Regions from separate parts of the Homo sapiens genome. Here regions 1 and 2 are each linked to region 3. Evidence: promoter capture Hi-C in 16 types of primary human blood cells and fetal thymus (Javierre and others, 2016). All regions are on one chromosome and are shown on one strand. Each heading gives the region's core, a stretch centred on a gene start or on the middle of the fragment in contact. The rest is flanking DNA. Distances are from core to core; before and after follow the strand shown. Region 1 overlaps LOC107985242 (a long non-coding RNA gene). Region 2 overlaps LOC107985242 (a long non-coding RNA gene). Region 3 holds the start of RGS2 (regulator of G protein signaling 2).

Evidence for each region. Contacts are between HindIII fragments. The CHiCAGO score rates a contact against its expected background, and 5 or more counts as called.
Region 1: a fragment that was not itself captured here is called in contact with the fragment with the promoter of RGS2 in region 3 in 2 of 17 cell types (total CD4 T cells and naive CD8 T cells); the score reaches 5.7 in total CD4 T cells.
Region 2: a fragment that was not itself captured here is called in contact with the fragment with the promoter of RGS2 in region 3 in 2 of 17 cell types (total B cells and naive B cells); the score reaches 9.5 in total B cells.

Annotation. Positions count from the first base shown.
Region 1 is chr1:194,300,050-194,304,278 of GRCh38, reverse strand. The region is part of intron 2 of LOC107985242 (a long non-coding RNA gene); the gene reads left to right. Among named protein-coding and RNA genes, the nearest start is that of LINC01031, 1.0 Mb to the right of the region's middle. The HindIII fragment of the contact is 1,748 bases long and covers 1,304-3,051 here.
Region 2 is chr1:194,276,158-194,280,283 of GRCh38, reverse strand. All of the region lies in intron 2 of LOC107985242 (a long non-coding RNA gene), which reads left to right. Among named protein-coding and RNA genes, the nearest start is that of LINC01031, 970 kb to the right of the region's middle. RefSeq lists an enhancer at 1-237. The HindIII fragment of the contact is 3,038 bases long and covers 1,193-4,126 here.
Region 3 is chr1:192,805,807-192,810,548 of GRCh38, reverse strand. RGS2 (regulator of G protein signaling 2) reads right to left here and starts at 1,510. Exons shown (of 5, transcript NM_002923.4): 1 at 1,368-1,510; 2 at 282-383; 3 at 118-179. The coding sequence starts at 1,477. RefSeq lists silencers at 257-316, 1,824-2,033, 2,970-3,059 and an enhancer at 1,274-1,493. The HindIII fragment of the contact is 4,593 bases long and covers 294-4,742 here.

The DNA.
Region 1 (4,229 bases), core at 928-3,427, 1.5 Mb before region 3:
TTTCTGACCATGTCTTACCATTTTCCTACTACCCACTTTTTCTACACTGAGCCAACATCATCTTTCACCTGGATTATTGATACACCTGCACTTGTCCCCGTAATGTCTGTTTTCCATTCAGCAGCCAGAAAAATACAATTAAAACATAAATAAGTTCATGAAACCTCTCTTTACCAAACCGTCACATTGGTTCACTGCTTTTCCAGAGCAAATGGAAAAGTCCCTACAATAAACGACCAGGCTATATGTGATATATGTGATTTGCATCTTTTTCCTTTATATATATATATATATATAAAAAATATAAAATTTATACATGTATATATAATATATAATATATATTTATATATGTATAAATATATAATACATAAAAATATATTCATATATGTACAAATATATAATACATAAAAATATATTCATATATGTACAAATATATAATACATAAAAATATATTATATTTATATATGTACAAATGTATAATACATAAGAATATATTTATATATGTACAAATGTATAATACATAAGAATATATTTATATATGTACAAATGTATAATACATAAGAATATATTTATATATGTACAAATGTATAATACATAAGAATATATTTATATATGTACAAATGTATAATACATAAGAATATATTTATATATGTACAAATATATAATACATAAGAATATATTTATATATGTACAAATATATAATATATAAGAATATGTTTATATATGTACAAATATATAATATATAAGAATATGTTTATATATGTATAAATATATATACATTTACTTGTATATTGTTTTCTCATACTGAAATATAAACTCCATGAAAGAAAGGACTTTTGTCTATATTGTTTGCTGCTGTGTTACCAGAACTTAAAAATAGTTCCTATCACATAGTGCTCAATAAATTTTTGAATGAATAAATGATATTAAAGAATGAATAGGCATTTATCAATTGTGTAAGAGAGAAAGAAAAAACATCCTAAGCAAGAAGCTGGCATATAAAAGTCAAAGAAATCCCTGAAGATGGTACTGTAAGAATATATGCATATTAGAGAACAGAAGCAGATGTGGTTGGAGAGATAGACAGGGGACATGGCTTCCTGCATCATTTACATACTGGGCCAAGTCTAAGGTTTTTTTTTTTTTTTTCATTTCTGAGCCAGGAAAATTGTGATAAAAACACAATAATATATATTTTCTGTTTTTAAATGGCTATCCTCTAGCCCTTGCCAATGGCTTACCTACATGCTCGTATTATCTTGTTAATTTGAAAAGGAAAAGTTAAGCAGACACTTTATAAGCTTCTTATCAAGAAACACAATAGTAAGTCAATAGCACACCTTCTGGGTATGTTGCATGTGAAGAGACAGTAAATTAAGAACTATATTCCATATTCAGATATTTTTTGAGGTTTATTGCTTCTTCAGTGTTAGAACATTTTAATTGGTTTCTTTTAACTTTGAAAAATATACTCTAGAGATAAATTCATTTATAATAAAGGTCACTACCTAACATTAAAAGGCAGTATTTCCATTAACATTTTATGTGCTGGTATATTTAACAACAGTGAAAAGACACTTTAAGGAAGCCTCCTCTTGTTTTAAAAGGTCAATACACAAAATGTATTTTAAAAATTCTATATTAATAGACCACATTCTATAATTCAAAATTATTTAAAAACTATTAGAAACAGAAAATAACCAAATAATTTACCAATATACAAAATAAAACATTGACGTACTAAATAATATTCAAACAGTGAGGTTCTTTTTGATTCAACTTATGGTTTTATCAACAATGGGGAGAATTAAAAGGGTAGATAATGCCTATATGGGCAAAGCGAAACTTTGAGCAATTGTATAATAAACTTGGTAAATTAGTTTTGGCTATATAATCCTATGTTTAAAATACCGGATTTCTTTCTGTCTCCTCTTGCTTTTCCTCAAGAGCATCATATTCATTGATAAGAGAAGAACTTGTTCTAATTTCTGTTCTGCCATTCCTGGTTGTGCAGACCTGGGCTAGTTACAAGAGTTGGTTTGAGGGCAAAATCAGATAATGCATGCAGAAGTTCTGACACATTTTAAGTGTTAATTAAATATTAGCCTTTCTCTCTAATTTTAGTATCTTCTTCTACTCTTCACTCCCTCAAACTGCTGTTTCTCAAGGACTCCCTTATGGATAGGAAAGCGATACAGTTATTAACCCACTACATAACCTCTGGTATGGCTTCATGTTTAAATGAATATTTATTGATTAATATAGAGAGAGTTATGATAATAATAACTCATTAAGTACTTAATATTTGGCAGACACTAGCCTTCATGTTTTCTTATATAAATTTGTTTTATTTTCTTGGTAACTCCTTGAATAGATGCAATCATTATCTTGTTATGATATAGAAGGTAACTGAAGCATAGAACAAGTACTGCGTTTTTTTTTTTTATAGTAACAGAACCTTTAAGTGGGAGAACAGAATTTAAATACATAAAACTTGGCCCTGTATTCTGTTCTCTTGGGCACTGCTCTAGGTTTAGGGAGAAAGAGGGATACCATTTGCAGAACCCATATTTTCAGTGTGTTTGAGAAATAAGGTATTCAGATATGCTTATTTAACCATAAGGCCATCATTGTTCATCCTAATAATACAACTCATATTGTTGCTGAAATATTTTACATAAATGTCTAGCATTATATTTAGTCTGTGGTTTTGCAGACCCTATGATTTCTCAAATCAGGAGATCTCCAGTGACAGTTTTGTTACATGTTAGAGTGAATTTAAAGTGTTTTGATTATGTTTTATTTATTTTTTGAGGCAGAAATACTGTTGAATGAGAGGGGAGACTTCATATTTGCTTTGCATAGAAAAAATAAACATTTTATTTCTTTTTTCAGTTTTTTTTTGTGGGGGTTGAGAGTGGTTCTGTTTTCCAAATATTTTCATATATCCTCCATAGAACTTTAAATGATGTTTCACATGGTGTACAGGCTCAACAATATCTCCTGACAGGCAAGAATAGGAATAAAATAGTGAAGAATCCTTTCTAAGCTTGTATTCTGGGTAGTGAGACTTTGAATAATGAGGCCAAGGCAGCAATTTTCATCTCTATGTGGCCTCTTAGGCTCTGCTCTGCCGTAGTGTCATGAGCAGCAAGCTTATACTCTAAAGAATGAAGTGTGCTGCCATACCCGAAGGCAAAGCCCATCTGCTTGTTCTATTTTTCTTCTCATGCTCAGCCAAGTTCTAGAGAATAATAGTCCTGGGCTACAGGAAAGCATTCAGCTACCACAGCTTCCTAAACTAAAATTTCTGACATATGGCTCATGATAGGAAATGTTCAAATAAATAAGCTTAGGTCTAGGTGCTGTTCTGGATCCAGTCCCTAAGATTGAACTGCCATTTGGAGTAGAGATCTATTTACAAGTACGAATGTTATATATTCAGAATGAAGTATAGATACCATAGCGAATGAGTCAGCAACCTAGGTCCTCATTCCAAATAAACAGCAATAGTTTGTTCAAATCAGAAAACAACAACAACAGAAACAAACAAACATTATTGGGTAGATGATAAAACAAACCTGGGAAGCAATGGCTATCAGGCATATTTGTTGAAAATGTTCTATACTTAGGCAGAAGGTATGCATTCTGGTAACTTGGAGGGAAACTAATAAAAGTTGGCAGGAGCTCAATCCTAGAAGGAAACTTAGTCATAGGGACATGACAATGAAGGACAAAGTCTAAGGGAAATATGGCACAGAGGAGAGCTTGGCAGTTGGTAATGAAATGAGAAAGCAAGAGAGATTGATTTCTTCTCATGTTACTCCTCATGGTTGGCAGGGTATACGTATACCCTGAATATGGTCAGGGTTTACCACTGGGCTGGAGATAGTTTTAAGCATCCTGATGACCAGATCTCATGGAGAGCAAAGTAAATTGCATTGGAACTGACACTCATTTCTTTTGTATTGGGATAATCTTTCTAATCACAGATGGAATGGTTGATTTGTATTTCAGGATAAGTTACTCCCATTGACCATCTTCCCATTTCCCCCACCTCTCATCTTCTCATAACCGTCATTGTGCTCTCTACCTCTATGAATTCAATTATTTTAGATTCCACATTTAAGAAAGAATATGTATTTTTCTTTCTGTGCCTGGCTTATTTTACTTAGCATAATGTCCTCTAGATTCATCCATGCTTCTGCAAATGACAGAATATCTGTCTT
Region 2 (4,126 bases), core at 1,462-3,961, 1.5 Mb before region 3:
AGGAAGGTTTCATAGAACCAAGAACCAAGAAGTGAGAAGAAAATTACCCATTGTTACCATTATATCCAGTGATGCATATGATGAATTTGTACTTCAGGCACAACTGAAGTAAAGATGTTTAGTATTTGTTTTCTACTTGTCACGGTTATTCTCTGTTCCTCTTGCATTCCTTACTTGGTTACTTGGTTTCTTTTTTAGTATAATTTCGTTAGTCTTTCTTGTTTCCCTTTTTATAGCTTTCAAGTATTCGTTGTTTTATTATTATTTCAGTGTTTACCATATTATTTATCACACTACTCATGTACATTTTACACTTATTATAGTCTAAGATAAATTACTTGTTTTACAATTTTCTAAACAATGCAGGGGCTTTAGAACACTTTAACTCCATTATGTCCCTCCCAGCCTTTCATGGTATTGTCGTCAGGTAGTGCATGTGTATATTTTAAACCCAGAAGTCATCCTTGATTTTGAAGCAGTAAAAATTAATTTATTTATCTACATAGTATTCTTTTCCCTTGTTCATTATGCCTTCCTCTGCCTTCCTGTGTTCATATTGAGTCATTATACTTTGGAAATGTCCTTTTATATTCCCTTTACTGAAAATCTGCTGCTGATGAAACCTCTCAATTTTTTTTGTCTAAAAATTGTGTTTATTTTGCTTTAATTTTTGAAGGACATTTTTTACTATGATAGAATGTCTTTTTTTTTTTTTTTTTTTGAGATGGGAGTTTCACTTTGTCACCCAGGCTGGAGTGCAGTGGCGCGATCTTGGCTCACTGCAGCCTCCGCCTCTTGGCTTCAAGCAATTATCCTGCCTCAGCCTCCCGAGTAGCTGGGACTACAGGCACCTGCCACCACACCCAGCTAAGTTTTGTGTTTTCAGTAGAGACAGCGTTTCACCGTATAGACCAGGCTTGTCTCAAACTCCTGACCTCATGATCCACCCGCCTCAGCCTCCCAAAGTGCTGAGATTACAGGCATGAGCCACCGCGCCTGGCCTCTATAGAATTCTTTATTGGTAAGTGTTATTTAGTTTTTCAGCCCTTGAAAAAAAATCAAACCGTGTTTTTTTTATCATTTATGTTAACAGGCCAGTTATTAATCTCATTATTGTTTTTTGAAGAAATTTAACTGTTTGCAAGAGACTGCATTTTGTCTTTCTAAAATTCATATGTTGATGCCTTAAGCTTCTATGTTATTATACTTAGAGATAGGTCTTTAGAAGGTAATTAGGCTAAATAGGGTTAGATGGGTGAGGCCCTAATTCCGTAGGACTGTGGCCTCATAAGAAGAAAAACGAAGAGCTGTTTCTCCCCTTCTTTCTCACTCTCTCCTTTCTCTTTCTTGTTCTCTCTTTCTCTCACTCTCTGTCTCTGTCATATAAGGCAAAAAGGCAGCCACCTGGAAGCCAGGAAAAGAGTTCTTACCAGGACCCAAATTGTCCAGCACCTTTGTCTCGGATTTCCTTACCCACAAGAACTGAGAACATAAATTTCTGTTGTTGAGCTACCCAGTCTATGTGTTTTGTTATGGCAGTCACAACGAATTACTACAGTGGTTTTATTTTTATTTAAAAAATTTTTCTTTCCAACCTTTATTGTAGGTGCAGAGGGTACATGGGCAGGTTTGTCACATAGATAAATTGTGTGTTGTGGGGGTTTGGTGTACAGATTATTTGGTCACCCAGTTAATGAGCATAGTACCCTGTAGGTAGTTTTTTGATGTCTCCCTTCTCCCACCCTCCACCTTCAAGAAGGGCCTGGTGTCTATTGTTCCCTTCTTTGTGTTCAAATGTGTTCAATGTTTACCTCCAATTATAAGTAAGAACATGTGACATTTGGTTTTCTATTCCTGTGTTTCATATTTTCTTCATCCAGTCCACTGTTGATGGGCATCTAGGTTGATTCCATGTCTTTGTTATTGCGAATAGTGCCATGATGAATACACACATTCATATGTCTTTATGGTAGAATGATTTCTATTCCTCTGGGTATATACCCAGAAATGGGATTGCTCGGTTGGATGGTAGTTCTGTTTTAAGTTCTTTGAGAAACCTCGAAAATGCTTTCCACGGTGACTGAACTAATTTACATTCTCACCAGCGCTGTATAAGCATTACCTTTTCTCCAAAACCTTGCCAACATCTGTTAATTTTTGACTTTTTAATAATAGCCATTCTGACTGGTGTGAGATGGTATCTCATTGTGGTTTTGATTTGCATTTCTCTAGTGATTAGTGATATTGAACATTTTTTTTTTTTTACATGCGTGCTGGCTACGTGTATGTCTTCTCTTGAGAAGTGTCCATTCACATTTTTTGCCCATTTTTTAATGGTTTTTTTTTATTGTTAAATTGTTTAAGTTCTTTATGGATTCTGGATAGTAGGCCCTTGTCAGATGCATAGTTTGCAAATATTTTCTTCCATTTCATAGGTCATCTCTTTACTCTGTTAAAAGTTTCCTTTGCTGTGCAGAAGCTCTTCAGTTTAATTAAGTCCCACTTGTTAATTTTTGTTTTTGTTGCAATTGCTTTTGGAGTCTTTATAACAAAATATTTCCCAGTGCCTATTTCCAGAATGGTATTTCCTAGTTATTTCCAGGTTTTTATAGTTCTGGCTTTTACATTTAAATCTCTAATCCATTTCGAATTGATTTTAGTTTATGATAAAAGGAAAAGGTCCAGTTTCAATCTTTTGCTTATGGCTAGAAAGTTATGCAAGCACTATTTATTGACTAGCGATTCCTTTCCCTGTTGCTTGTTTCTGTCAAATATCAGATGGTTGTAGGTGTGTGGCTTTATTTCTAGGCTCTCCACCATGATCCATTTGTCTATGTGTCTATTTTTGTACCAGTACTATGCTGTTTTGATTACTGTAGCCTTGTTGTATAGCTTGAAGTTGGGTAGTGTGATGCCTCTGGCTTTGTACTGTTTGCATACGATTGCTTTGGCTATTCAGGCTTTTTTTTTTTTTTTTGGTTCCATACGAATTTTAGAATAGTTTCTTCTAATTCTATGAAAACATCATTGGTAGTTTGATAGGAATAGCATTGAATCAGATGGTGGTTATAAATTTTCTCTTTCTATTCAACATTTTAGATACTTTACTATAATGTGTTATGTGTTATTATATACTATAGATTATATGTTTATATTATATATAGATATATAATATCTATATGATATTGATATATATATCATATATAGTTTTTGCGTGTATATATATTTATGGAAGGCCTGACTTTATATATATATATCTATATATATCTCCATAAATCTGTGACTTCATATCAGTAATCAGTTTTTGGAAATCGTTAGCTATTACTTATTCAAATAATTATCCTGTCTAATTTTTTTTCATTTCTAATGGGACTGCATTTGCACATATATTAGACCTATTCATGGTATCTCTGTTCTTTCTGTATTCTCTCTAAATATTTTCATTTGTTTTACTGTTCAGATCTCCAATCTTGTCTTTTGCTGTTTCTCATGTGTTTTTCAGTACAGCCCTTTAATTCTTAATTTTACATATAGCATATTTTCTATTCTTTTAATTTTCTCATAACTCATTTTATAAAGTTCAGTTCTCTGACGAAAAATTCCAATTCATCTTTATTTGGTTGAAAATATTAATTAATCTCATATTATAATTTAGGTCTCAAATCCTCATAACCTATTACTCCTCTGAAACTATTTCTTTGTTTCTTTTCTAATCTTTGTTATTATCATCATGATCACCATAATTAGCACCACCATTTATTTTTGCCCATTGCTATGACATGTAATTTTTTTTTTTTTTTTTTTTTTTTTTTGAGACGGAGTCTCGCCCTTTTGCCCAGGCCCGAGTGCAGTGGCGCTATCTCGGCTCACTGCAAGCTCCGCCTCCTGGGTTCACACCATTCTCCTGCCTCAGCCTCCCAAGTAGCTGGGACTATAGGCGCCTGGCTAATTTTTTGTATTTTTAGTAGAGACGGGGTTTCACCGTGTTAGCCAGGATGGTCTAGATCTCCTGACCTTGTGATCTGCCCGCCTCGGCCTCCCAAAGTGCTGGGATTACAGGGGTGAGCCACCGCGCGTGGCCTATGACATGTAATTTTTTAAATGGAATTGTGCAGAAAAAAAATTA
Region 3 (4,742 bases), core at 261-2,760:
ATCCTATAGTGACTGCAGTCTAATCCCCCTCAGGCAAGCTGCTCTTTTGTTAGGTGGACGCAGCCTTTCCAGGCTTTTGCGATGTTAGCAATGGCTCAAGCTCAAGAGTTAACTTACATTTGCTGGCTAGCAGCTCGTCAAATGCTTCTGACCACAGCTGTGCTTCCTCAGGAGAAGGCCTGCAAGAGAGGTTCTGTATGTTAGCTTACGCACATCAGAGTTCCCCTTTTCAGTTCAGCAGCTAACTATTGATATTTGCAAGCACAGGATTCTCAACTTACTTGATGAAAGCTTGCTGTTTGCTTTTTTTGCCGGTTTTGGGCTTCCCAGGAGTAGAGGAATTTTGTAAGAAGTAGCTCAAACGGGTCTTCCAATCTTTTAAACTAAAACAAAAAATTAAAAAGATAATTACTAACTAGCAACACTTGAATATGCTACTGCAGCTGAACGCATTTTTACCAAATAAAGTCACCCAGTAACTAGAGACAAACCGCATAAGGCAAAGCAAGAACTCTTCAAATAAGTCTTATCCACCTAACATTTAAACCTCATGTACTGAGCAGTTTCGTCCATTAATCTGACCGTATCTACTAGTTTTACAACTAAGGGCAGGGCTACCTATAATCACTAGGGTATTTTAAAGAATTGTTAATGAATTTAGTTCAAAAGGCAGACACTATTTCTGGCTCACAAAGGGCATCAGTTTGTTTGCAAGGTTAATTACAATTCCGAGACGTTTTGCACTTTAATGAAAAGGACAGACATGGAACTGTCTGGAGCCGGCCCACGCTTCTCTCTTTAGAGCAGGAGGTTCTGGACCACGCCAGAGACTGTACAAAGAGGTGGGTGACTGATTCCCCTGCGCTCTTCCTTCCCCACCTACGACACTTCTTTTAAGCAGACGCTGCATAACAATTATTTGTTCCACATTCGGACTGGGTGAGATCTGCTCTATAATTAAAAAACAAAAATGGATTTTAAACGAGTATATTCAGAACCAGCAAGAGCATCACCTTCCAGTAGCTGTGTAAGCTGATGAGAACTCATCATGCAACGTATGAATGCTGGGGACGCGCTTCAGCCGCAGGATTCTGATGTCATTTTGAATGCAGGAGGACAAAAAGCCAACCCGCAATTTCTTAGCGCATCAACCACCGCCCTCATATCAACTGTCTCCCTCGGTTCTTAAACTGTACCCGAGCATCACCCAGATTTAACCTTACTTAACAAATTGACCTTTTCGATTTTTTTTCCCTGCATAGGCTCAGGCTAGTTTCCTAACGTCAAAGGCGAGCCCGAAAGTACCGCGTTTGCAGCTTGCAGTGTGGGGCAGGGGGTGGCGGGAGAGGGAAGAAAGCCATACTCACAGGGTCCGTTTCATCTTTTCTCGCTTCTCCTCGCTCTTGTGGCCACTGCCTGCGCTCTTGTCCATGGGTCTGCAGTCGTGTTGAACAGCCAAGAACATAGCACTTTGCATTATCGTTCTCCCGCTGGAGCCCCGGCTGTTTGCGGCTGGGCGTGCGTCGCAGCATTTATGAGGCCTCGGCTTGGGGGCGGGGCCTCGCGGCTCCGGCCCCGCCTCAAGAGGACGCGGATTGGTCGGCTGCAGACTGGCACGGGGATGGGTCAGCGCCCGCCGGCGGCAGTCACGGCTGCTGCCGAAGGGTCTCGAAGCCGGGGCGCTGCTGACGTCTGCGGCCCCGGCTTCTTGCGCACTCGGGCCACATAGCAGCGGCCAGCTGGGGCAGGTGTGGGAGCAGATGGAGAGTCTTCAGTGTGGGCCGCTGCGCACGACCTTTTGCTGAAGCGTGGCGGCCGGGCGGGCTCGAGGGCTTTGCGACGGAGGGAGGGAGCCGAAGTTGGCGGCGGCCCGGCGGGGGCGCCGGCGCTCCCTCACCCACCCTGACGGGCTCCCCAGCCCGAGGCCAGAGCGGCGATTCCCTGGCAGGAGGAGGTCGCCCGCCACGAGGCCGGAGTGCAGTGGCCTGATTTCGAATGAAGAGTGGGATTTTTCTTCCTTTTTTGAGCGCGTTCCCTGACCCCGCGCCTCATTTCTTGTTTGCTGTCCTGCTGTAGGACTCATTCGACACCCCCTGGTCTGTGAACTGAGGCAATGGGGAGACCCTCGCCCGTTTCTCTCTGCCACTTAACTTAAGGAAGGAGTAACCTGAAACGTTGATTGCCCAGGGGCAGGGTGGGATCTGCTCTGCAGCTTGCTGGGGCGTCTTGGAACACTTTGAGAATGAACATTAGGGATTGAACAAGAGAAAGTGACTTTATCAGAAGACAGTGCTTTAATTGGGTTTGCATTTTTGATCACTACTAGGCACGTGGCTGGGTCTGTCTATAGGGTCATTCCTCAGGAGTCCTTGGTCACATCTCCTGCCAAAATAGAAATCACAGATTTCCTTATGGTGGGAGAGAAAGCTGCAGACATAGAGATTTCATAGCTGTAATGCACCAGAATCAGTGAGTTCAAGGAGTCAGGATTTCCTCATGAGTCATTCTTGTTGAGTTAGGATTTACCAGAACATTTAATAACTGGCAAAAAGTAGGGGGGAGAATGAGTTAACAGTTTCCTTGATTAAGTTTTATTTGTTAATTCTTCAAGTATCATCTCTACTCCTGAAGGTTTTAAAACGACTTGATTGGTAAAGACAAATAGATTACCTCAACCACAAAATGAGTTGATTTCGGATAATATTACCAGAACTAGCCAGTGAAATGTTTAAGCGGCTTTGCAACCAAGCTGCAGATATTCTCTCTACTTTGTATTCGACTTCTTAAAAGGAAATTGGAAATAATTAATATATTCTTACGGTGAGCTGCCAGTAGTTGGAGCTCCAAGTTTGACTTGGAGGGCAAAACCTGCAGTTATTATTTAAGACAACAGTTGTGGACTTTATTGTGGAAAGGAAAATCGTGTAGATTTCAGTAATAGATACTTTGAAACATGCTTGTTAACTCTAGGAATGCCATTTTTTCTTAAGCATATGCTCTTCCTCTCCTATGCTTTGCATAATAGTCCTACATCTATTTTCACTTTCTGATGACTCAATACGTATTTATCAGCTGTCTGTAATACGCAGACACTTGCTTTTTCTCACCACTGTAAACCTCAATATATTTTATACTTAGAACCTTAGATGTTAGAATTTACTCATAGACAGTTAAATTCGCTGGCAGGCCAGGAGTTCTGACAAAGAGGCAGCAGAGAGAGAGAGCTGGACTTCTGTCAGGAGACCCAGTTAGAGCCTGGGCTTATCCAGTAAATGCTAAGTAACTGTTGGGACACTAGCTTCACACCTCTTTGAGTCCCAGTTTCTCATCTGTAATAAGAGTAACATGTATTTTCTTGCCAGCCTCATAGGATATTATGTGACTCTTACATGAAAGGTCTTTTCTAAGCTCTAAAGTACTGTACGGAAGTTTATTACTGATTTGCATATGTGTGGCAAAAGGAAATGTTCAAATCATAGCTGTTCAAGATGGAAAAAATCGTACGAGGATTAACTCAGACGTAATTAGGTTATAAATATGTAGGTACTATTAAATATCAAGATGTTTCAATTTGTAGGTACACAAATACACAAGATACACAAATTTGTAGAAGATTAAGCTCATTATAGATATTTAATAAATGCTCACTGGATAATACGTAGGAAAAATAAGGAAACTGATTAACATTTAAACTTTTCAGGCTGGGTATTGTGGTTCATGCTGGAAATCCCAGCACTTTGGGAGGCTGAGGCAGGTGGAAGGCTTGAGCTCAGAAGTTCGAGGTTCAAGCATTCAAGTTACAGTGAGCTATGATTGTGCCATTGCACTCCAACCTGAGTGATAGAGTGAGACCCTGTCTCTTAAAATAATAATAATAATTAATTACACTTTTCAGATATCTCCAAGCCAAGGAAGTTTAATCATCTCAATATATTAATGAAAGTGAATATACATGTACCTGCATAAGCAACTGGTTTAAATATAGATTATTCTTGATGTTTTTGTGTTTAATATAATTCTTTGCTTTTTTCATAAACCCTTCCAGATCAGTGACTGATGTTAGGTGGCAGAAAATTAATTTTTCTCTGAAAATTATGTGGTTGGTTAATAAATCTGGATATAAATCAACTTGTAATTTTTGTATCTATATGTAATTTTAAGAGTTAAGGCAGTACCTGCTATAGAAACCTTTTCCTCAAAAACTTGCCATGTTAATGTCTTTTAAAAGACAGGCCAATATATGTATATTTACATATACATGTAATATATGTGACATGAATATATACATCATATATTTCACGCATATATGTAATATGTATTACATGTATATTTACATATGCATTACATATATTTACGTATATATAGGTAAAACAAAAGCTGGAATCTTTGATGACTTCCCTTTTTGTTGTTGCAACTGGCTTTTAGGTAAACAGAATTGCTCCACATAAAGATGACACATATTTTCCATCCTGTGGTAGAGGAAGAAACAATGCAGTGGGTTGTAAAAGTTGCACAACAAAACCTCAGTTTGAGAGTGGCTGATAACCTAACCATACATTTTCTGTGTTGAACCTACCATGCCCTCTACTGGAGAGATTGATTGAACAGATTAGTGGTGGAGGTTTTCCAGATAATTTATGAACTTTCTATATTTTTTTAAAAGTTTATAGAAGAAGGCAAAGAAAAAATACAAGTTTCTTGCATAATGTATCTGAGATTCTTGTATTATATATCTTGCGTGT